3 separate regions of the Homo sapiens genome follow, and all the other regions are linked to region 1. The links are contacts of gene promoters, found by promoter capture Hi-C in human tissues and cell types (Jung and others, 2019). All regions are on one chromosome and are shown on one strand. The core of a region is centred on a gene start or on the middle of the fragment in contact, and the rest is flanking DNA. Distances in the headings are between cores, read along the strand shown.

Region 1 (2,846 bases), core at 109-2,608:
AATAAGACGAGGAAATGGGAAAAGATATATATATATATATATATATATATATATATATATTTTCCCTCACCAGACTATGGGGGATTCACCACCAGAGAGGGAGGCAACAGCCACAGCTCTAGAGTCAGCCACCCGTCCATCGTACACAGACAAGGAGAGGTCTTATGAAGCTTCAGGGCGGTCTGGGACCTTAGCTCTTTTGTAACGAGTTGTTTGGCATAAGGCCCAGTGATGAGAGCCCTTCACGACTTGCCTCAAGGAACACAAAAAGGTCAACCTTTTTTTGTGATTGTCTATTGTTTTTCAACAACTAATATATAGGAATAGATTGAAATAGAGATTTCTTCAATACAGCGCTGGATGAACACCTCAGGGGCTCACACAACCTGTTCTGGGACTTGGTGACAATTGTTTGTGTCCACATTCAATTGAGTTCAGATTTAATATGTGACTTTTCCTCCACAAATTCCCCTGTCTTGATGAATCGGCTCTGTCTAGGCAAAGGGTAAAATAAACCCCTTGGGCTGTTACACAACCTCCGCCTCCTGGCTTCAAGTGATTCTCCTGCCTCAGCCTCCGGTGTAGCTGGGACTACAGATGTGCACCCCCACACCCAGGTAACTTTTTATATTATTAGTTATTATTATTATTTATTAGTTATTATTAGAGATGGGGTTTCACCATGTTGGCTAGGCTTGTCTTGAACTCCTGACCTCAAGTGATCTGCTCACCTTGGCCTCCCAAAGTGTTGGAATTACCAGCGTGAACTATCCGTGCCTGCCTCTAAATGATTTCTATCTCCTATAGCTGTTGGAAATTAAAGATTGTTTCAAATTGAAAAAATAAAAAGAATGTGGACAAAAATAAAATATAAATAGTTTTTTAAAATTACGAGATATTACAAAATATATATGTAAATCTGGAGTGCTCAAAAATGACAAATTTGATTTATTTATAAGGTTTTATTAAAATTAGCTTTAATAGATTTTACCATTACCAAAGTAAAAGTTGATTTTCTGTTGAACAAAAATTTTATGTATTATTAATGACAGCAAAATACTTCTGTTCACCTTTTTAATACATTCAACAAGAAAGAGAGTAAACAAGAGATAAAATATTCCCATGCTCTGGGGTGGGCCTGGCTCAGCTCAGGGAGGAAGCACTGTTTGAAAAGCCAGCTGCTTAGGCTGGCACTCTTTGTTCACTTAACCCAGCATCTGATCATATCTTCTGTCACTCAGGGCCTGAGGGGGCGGGGATTTAAGCATTATCCAATCAGGGACGCTGGGCTGGAAGCCGTCCAATCAGGCACGCAGCCAGAGTGAAGCGGAAGGCTTCCGGGTTTTGCGGGGCCTTTGTCTCTGCAGCCGGAGCTCCAGGTCTTGTCTTCACTGCTGTGTGTCCTCTGCTCCTAGAGGCCCAGCCTCTGTGGCCCTGTGTCCTGCAGGTATTGGGAGATCCACAGCTAAGACGCCCGGGAGCCCCTGGAAGCCTAGAAATGGTGAGAGTGCCGGTCCGACATCCCGAGAGAGGGGGATAGGCTGGTTGGAACCGGTGGGAAGTGGCTGTGGCGGGACTCAGGCCTCTGCGCAGTCAGCTCCACAATCTGCACCCTGAGTTCTCCTTGCCCAGCTCGGCCTCAGTCCCGTTCAGCCATAATTTGGCGGCTACGCTGACAGCCGGGCCCCCTGGCGTCCTGTGTCTTCCCTGCGTAGTGACTGCTCTGGCCTGGAGCGCTCCGTGGGCAGCTCTGCAACCGCAGCCTCCCGTCTCTCCCAGAATGTGCAGGGACCACCAGAGGGTCGTCAGGGGAGAATCCTGACTCGGGGTGCAGGTTCATGAATGGGAAGAGCTTTGGTCCGTGGAGTTCACAGTTTCTGTTTTCTGCTATTCAAAATTTATGGGGCCGGGCGCAGTCGTTCACGCCTGTAATCCCAGCACTTTGGGAGGCCGAGGCAGGCGGATAACTTGAGGTCAGGACTTCAAGATAAGCCTGGCCCAAATGGGGAAACCCCATGTCTACTAAAAATGCAAAAATTAGCTGGGTGTGATGACAGATGTCTGTAATCACAGCTTCTCGGGAGGCAGAAGTGAGAGAATCGCTTGAACTCCGGAGGTGGATGTTGCAGTGAGCTGAGATCTTGCCACTGCACTCCAGCCTGCGCGACAGTGAGACTCCGTCTCAAAAAAAAAAAAAAAATTCCTGGTTATGTAATTACAGTTTAATTGGCAGTTTATAGTTGCTTAAGCCTGAATTTTGTTTCCCCTAATGTAGTAATTTCCCAAAAAATGCACATGAGCTTAGATTTTTTTTTTTTTGAGGTAGAAATCCAGGGACTAGAGCTTCTTCAGTCTAATTGCCTGCCACTTAATTATTTTCACACGCCACAGCGGACTGATTTTCCCTGGCATTTTCCACATGTGTCTCAAGCAAGGCCTCAAGTGTACCCCATGTTCCTCAATTTATTATTTTTATTTTTTTTTTTTTGAGACGGAGTCTCGCTCTGTCGCCAGAGCTGGAGTGCAGTGTCAGATCTCGGCTCACTGCAACCTCCGCCTCTCAGGTTCAAGCATTCTTCTGCTTCAGCCTCTGGAGTAGTTGGGGCTATGGGCACGCGACACCACGCCCAGCTAATTTTTGTATTTTTAGTAGAGATGGAGTTTCAGTATGTTAGCCAGGAATGCTAGTTACCAAGGAAAAAAATAGGGAAAATCTCTCTTCCATTTTGGCTGTAGACAATGAATATATTTCCACAGGAAAATGTGGTAGATAATTGATGAGTTACATAGATTCGTCAACACATTAGTTCCTCTTTTTGCAGGGGAAATTTGTGACAGTGAATATC
Region 2 (2,846 bases), core at 255-2,754, 1.3 Mb before region 1:
CTCTACTAAAAATACAAAAAATTAGCTGGTATTCATAGAAAATATAATTTTTAATTATCGAGTAATCTGAATAAATGAATATATCATAAAAAAATTAGCTGGGCATGGGGTCATGCACCTGTATCCCCAGCTACTTGGTAGGCTGAGTCAGGAGAATCGCTTGAACCTGGGAGGCGGAGGTTGCAGTGAGCCGAGATTGTGCCACTGCACTCCAGCCTGGTCGACAGAGCAAGACTCCGTCTCAAAAAAAAAAAAAAAAAAAAAAAAAAAGTAAGTGTAGGCAAATGTAGATGCAAATACACATCTGTTTACACAAATTCCTACTTTCAAAATCACAGAGAATGGTCACTTTTTAGCCTTTTTATGAATAAAATCCTGGATTCCATTTATTATTCCATTAGAACTTCTGTACCTATTTTGAAATTTGAGATTAAATTGTCTTTTGCTGAGTTTGCCCAGTTTATATTTCAAGTAATACTATATCATGGGAACACATTAGAGATTTTCTATATTTTTATGTTTTACATCAGTTTCTAAAACCTGGAAATTATCTTGTTTTGAATTTCTTATGAAAATGGAATACTATCCACTAAGAATATTCCATTAGCATACTGCAACTTAAAGTCAGGAGATCTAAACTTTTTCTGGTAACATTACCTATATTTAGTTTTTTAAAAAATGTTCTCTTTTTGTATATGCTTTTTAATTTGCTTTTAAAACATGTGCATAACATTTCCTTGAATTCTATTAATGGACCTCAATGCTTTAAAAAAATTTTTTGATAAAATAATTCAGTCTGAATGTGATGGTTCATGCCTATAATCCCAGTACTTTGGGAGGCTGACTTTGTAGGATTCATTGAGCCCAAGAGTTTGAGACCATTCTGGGCTATCTAGTGAGGCTTCATCTCTACAAATAAAAATATGATAACAAATTAGCTGAGCATGGGGCCACATGCCAGTGGTCCCAGCTACTCAGAAGGCTGAGACAGGTAAATTGCTCAAGCCTAGATTGCTGAGGCTGCAGTGAGCTGCAGTCATGACCCTGCACTCCAGCCTGGGTAACAGAGACTCCCTCTCAAGAATAAGAAAAACCCCACAGAGGATAAATAATAAAATATTCAATGTTTGTAATACTTCCTACTCAAAGGGCCAGAAGCCAGGAAGGTCATAAAAGCTGAAATTCAAAAACAATTGTTTTCATTTTTTAGTATCCATATAGTATATTACTTATAAGTGAAGATGACCTTATACACAAGGTTAAAGGCAAATACCCTCTGGGTTGGGCCTGCTCTGCTCAGGGAGGAAGCCCTGCCTGAAAAGGCGGCAGCCTAGGCTGTCATTCTTTCTTCTTTCAGCCCAGCGTCTGATCACATCTTTCATTCAGGGTTTGCGGGGGCAGGACCTTAGAAGTTATCCAATCAGGGACGCTGGGCTGGAAACCGTCCAATCAGGCACGGGGCAGGAGAGGACAGGGCGGCTTCCGGGATGTGGCGGGGCCTTTGTCTCTGGCTGCAGTTGGAGCTCTGCGTCTCGTCTTCGTTCTTCTGTGTCCTCTGCTGCTAGAGGTCCAGCCTCTGTGGCTCTGTGACCTGCGGGTATTGGGGGATCCACAGCTAAGACGCCAGGACCCCCCGGAAGCCTAGAAATGGTGAGAGTGCCGGTCCGACATCCCGAGAGGGGGAAGGGGCTGTGGCGTGACTCAGGCCTTCCCGCAGTCAGCTCCACAATCTGCGCGTGCCGGAGTTCTTGCCCAGCTCGGCCTCAATCCCCTTCAGCCATAAGATGGCGGCTGCTCTGGGAGGCAGCCCCGGGCGTCCTGTCTCTTCTCTGCGCAGTGACTGTGTCCCGGCCTGCAGCCCTCTGTGGGCAGCTCTGCAGCCGCAACGCGGCGTCTCTCCCAAATTGTGCAGGGGCCACAGGAGGGTCGTCAGGAGAGAATCCTGACTCGTGATGCAGTTTCATGAATAGGAAGAGCTTTGGTCCGTGGCATTTCTAGTCCCTCTTTTGGTCTATTAGAAACAGGAGAGTCGGCCGGGCGCGGTGGGTCACGCCTTTAATCCCAGCACTTTGGGAGGTCGAGGTGGGTGGATGACGAGGTGAGGAGTTCGAGAGCAGCCTGGCTAATATGGTGAACCCCGTCTATACTAAAAATACAAAAATTAGCTGGGCGTGGTGGCGCGCGCCTGTAATCGCAGCTACTAGGGAGGCTGAGACAGGAAAATCGCTTGAACCCAGGAGGCGGAGGATGCAGTGAGCCGAGATCGCGCCATTGCACTCCAGCCTGGGCCACAGAGTGAAACTCCCTCTGGAAAAAAAAAAAAAAAAAAACTAAACTAGATTTTCCTTTATTTCTGACATTCCCAAATGCCACCTTCTTCTCCGCAATTCACGTTATCAACTATTTTTTCTTTTTTTTCTTTTTTTTTTTTTTTTTGAGATGGACTTTCGCTTTTGCTGCCCAGGCTGGAGTGCAATGGTGCTATCTCGGCTCCCTGCAACCTCCGTCTCCCGGATTCAAGCGATTTTCTTGCCTCAGCCTCCTTAGTAGCTGGGATTACAGGTGCCTGCCACCACACCCAGCTAATTTTTTTTGTATTTTTAGTAAAGACGGGATTTCACTATATTGGCCAGGTGGTCTCGAACTCCTGAGCTCAGATGATCCACCCGCCTCAGCCTCCCAAAGTGCTAGGATTACAGCACTTAAAAATAGCCACCGAGCCGGGCTATTTTTTTTTTTTTTTTAGTGTACATTTTAGATACAGAGATACGTTTTAGATAAAGATATTTTAGATATCTGTATATTTTTGATACAGATATTTTAATTATTTTTTGAAAAATCATTGG
Region 3 (2,846 bases), core at 200-2,699, 1.2 Mb before region 1:
AGAAGCTCACCCCCAGATGCACAGCTGTCTAGTCAAAAAGCAGGTGATGATACATGTCTGAAGGAGCTCAGCTGAGACCAGAAGAATGGCCCCACTCAGCTCGGCCTAAATGGCCAACCATTTCAATTATAAACTAATAAGTTTTGGATGATTTGTTATGCCTCAATAGCTAACTAATACATGCACCCAGTACAGATAAGTTGCCAGGATTCAGTGACAGGTTGACTAAGAGTTGGCTTCTAACAGTGGACACCCTCTAGGTACTGATTTCTTCCCCTGATTTAAAGTTCGATGTTTTGTAAGAGAATTTTGGGTAATGCAGAAATACCTGTAGACATGTATGCGTGTGATTGGTGCTTAGACTCACATAGTCCCCCACACCACAGGAGAAAACAGATAAACACAGCCTGATTGTTAGGGCCAAGACCATATAGCAAACTATGTTTGTTTTTAATCTATTTTCTCCATCTCTAAATACTGGAGTTCAAGTGTGTGGACAGAACTGAAGACATAGTTGTTTTTTCTCCTGTGGCCCCATCATCCTTTGTTCACTATCTGGTCTCTAAAAGAAAGGTGGGCAACAGGTGGCCAGCAGTTGTTTATTACCTGTGGCTATTTTATTCCTACTGCCCTCAGCTCTTTCTATGGGAACTATCTGGTCCACCCTAGGAACCAAAGAGAGATGTTTGTAGGGAGAGTCTCTTCTTTCACTCTCGCAGGAAAGAGATGTTCAGGCCCTTCACACCGCTGACATCAGAGCTGCACTTCAATGTGACAGCTATTGTCCATGTGTGGCTACTGGGTTCCCACAATGTGCCTGGTCTGAAATGCGATATGCTAGAAAGGTAAAATACAAAGTCAGCTTCAAAGATTTAGTTCCAAATATTTATATATTTTATCAATAATTACATATTTCTCACACATTAAAATGATAATATTTTGAATATAATGGGTGAATTACATTGTTAACAATCAGTTCAACTTGTTTCTTTTTAAAGTTTGGCTACTAGAAAATTTCAAATCCACATGTGGCTGACATTCATTTTAGATGATTTTCTCTTTTCTAAAATCTCAGGCTGCCTGCTCAAAGGGCCAGAAGCCAGGAAGGTCATAAAAGCTGAAATTTTAAAATAATTGTTATATTCTTTTCACTTGTGTATAGCTATATAATGTATTATTTATTTATACATATGACCTTATACACAAATTTAAAGGCAAATACTCTCTGGGATGGGCCTAGCTCAGCTGAGGGAGGAAGCCCTGTCAGAAGAGGGGGCAGTCTAGGCTGTCACTCTTTCTTCATTGAACCCGCATCTGATCACATCTTCTGTCACTCAAAGCCTGACAGGGCGGGGATTTAAGCATTATCCAACCAGGGACGCTGGGCTGGAAACCGTCCAATCAGGCATGCAGCTGGAGCGGACTGGACGGCTTCCGGGTTTGGCGGGGTCTTTGTCTCTCGCTGTAGCCGGAGCTCCAGGTTTTGCTCTCACTTCTCTGTGTCTTCTGCTCCTAGGGGCCTAGCCTGTGTGGCCCTCTGACCTGCAGATATTGGGAGATCCACAGCTAAGACGCCAGGACCCCCTAGAAGCCTAGAAATGGTGAGAGTGCCCGGTCCGACATCCCGAGAGACGGCGAAAGGGCTGGTTGGAACTGGTGGGAAGTAGCTGTGGCGGGACTCAGGCCTCTCCGCAGTCAGCTTCACAATCTGCGCCTTGCCCAGCTCGGCCTCCGTCCCCTTCGGCCATAAGATGGCGGCTGCGCTGACAGCCAGGACCCCAGGCGTCCTTTCTCTTCCCTGCGTAGTGACTGTGCCTTGGCCTGGAGCCCTCTCTTGGCAGCTCTGCACCCGCAGCGCCGCGTCTCTCTCAGATTGTGCAGGGACCACGGGAGGGTCGTCAGGGGAAAATCCTGACTCGGGGTGCGGGTTCATGAATGGGAAGATCTTTGGTCCGTGGCTTTCCCAGTTCCTCTTTTCTCCTATTAAAAATGTATGGGAGTCACTGCACAAATATTAACGATTTTTTTGTTTGTTTGAGACGGAGTCGCTCTGTCGCCCAGGCTAGGGTTTAGTGGCGCGATCTCCCCTCACTGCAACCTCCGCCTCCCGGGTTCTGGAGATTCTCCTGGCTCAGCCTCCCGAGTAACTGGGATTACAGGCGCCTGTCACTGGGCCGGCCTTATTTTTTTGTATTTTTAGTTGGGACGGGGTTTCACCTCGTTGGCCAGGCTGGTCTTGAACTCCTGACCTCGTGATCCGCCCGCCTTGGCCTCCTAAAGTGCTGGGATTACAGGCGTGAGCCACCGCGCCTGGCCTAAAGAATTTAATCAAACAGTGATTCAAGAATCATAGAGTATCCAGCTATGGTTTGTAGTTTGTTGTCTATGGGAGAGGCTTGAAGGAAAGTCATTTATAAAATGTATGATGAAGAAAACTAAATTTAGTAATTGGTTACAGTAACGTAGTTTCTTGATTTGTACAATACAGGTGAAGATTTCCTGGTTGTGTAATCAGAGGTTAATTAACAGTTTATAGTTGTTTAAGCCTACATTTTCTCTGAATGTAGTAATTAAAAAAAAAATGCACCTGAGTTAGATTTTTTTTTTTTTTAAGTAGGAACCCAGGGACTAGAGACACCTCAGTGGAATTGCCTGTCTCTTAATTATTTTCACACTCCACGGGGAACTGATTTTCTGCTGCATTTTTCACCTGTGTCCCAAGCAGGTTGTTAAGTCTAACCCCCGTCCCCCATTTCTCCAGCCTCACTCTGGCTTGCAGTAAGATACTAAATTTCCAATTTCTTCTGGCGTTCCCAAATGTCAACTTTTCCTTCCTAATTCACATT

The links. Contacts are between HindIII fragments. The study calls those that stand out against the background at their distance.
Region 2: a contact is called between the fragment with the promoter of ZNF43 here and the fragment with the promoter of ZNF737 in region 1, in 1 of the 25 tissues and cell types used here (hippocampus).
Region 3: the fragment with the promoter of ZNF100 here is called in contact with the fragment with the promoter of ZNF737 in region 1 in 1 of the 25 tissues and cell types used here (heart left ventricle).

Annotation. Positions count from the first base shown.
Region 1 is chr19:20,564,293-20,567,138 of GRCh38, reverse strand. ZNF737 (zinc finger protein 737) reads left to right here and starts at 1,358. Exons shown (of 4, transcript NM_001159293.2): 1 at 1,358-1,501. The coding sequence starts at 1,499. The region is part of intron 2 of LOC105372316 (a long non-coding RNA gene); the gene reads right to left. RefSeq lists enhancers at 1,506-1,555, 1,766-1,925. The HindIII fragment of the contact is 4,540 bases long and covers 1-2,846 here.
Region 2 is chr19:21,834,840-21,837,685 of GRCh38, reverse strand. It overlaps ZNF43 (zinc finger protein 43), which reads left to right and starts at 1,504. Exons shown (of 4, transcript NM_003423.4): 1 at 1,504-1,650. The coding sequence starts at 1,648. RefSeq lists enhancers at 467-1,439, 1,551-1,710, 1,731-1,780, 1,821-1,910, 1,440-2,413. The HindIII fragment of the contact is 27,139 bases long and covers 1-2,846 here.
Region 3 is chr19:21,766,182-21,769,027 of GRCh38, reverse strand. It overlaps ZNF100 (zinc finger protein 100), which reads left to right and starts at 1,449. Exons shown (of 5, transcript NM_173531.4): 1 at 1,449-1,601. The coding sequence starts at 1,599. RefSeq lists a silencer at 1,285-1,462. The HindIII fragment of the contact is 21,319 bases long and covers 1-2,846 here.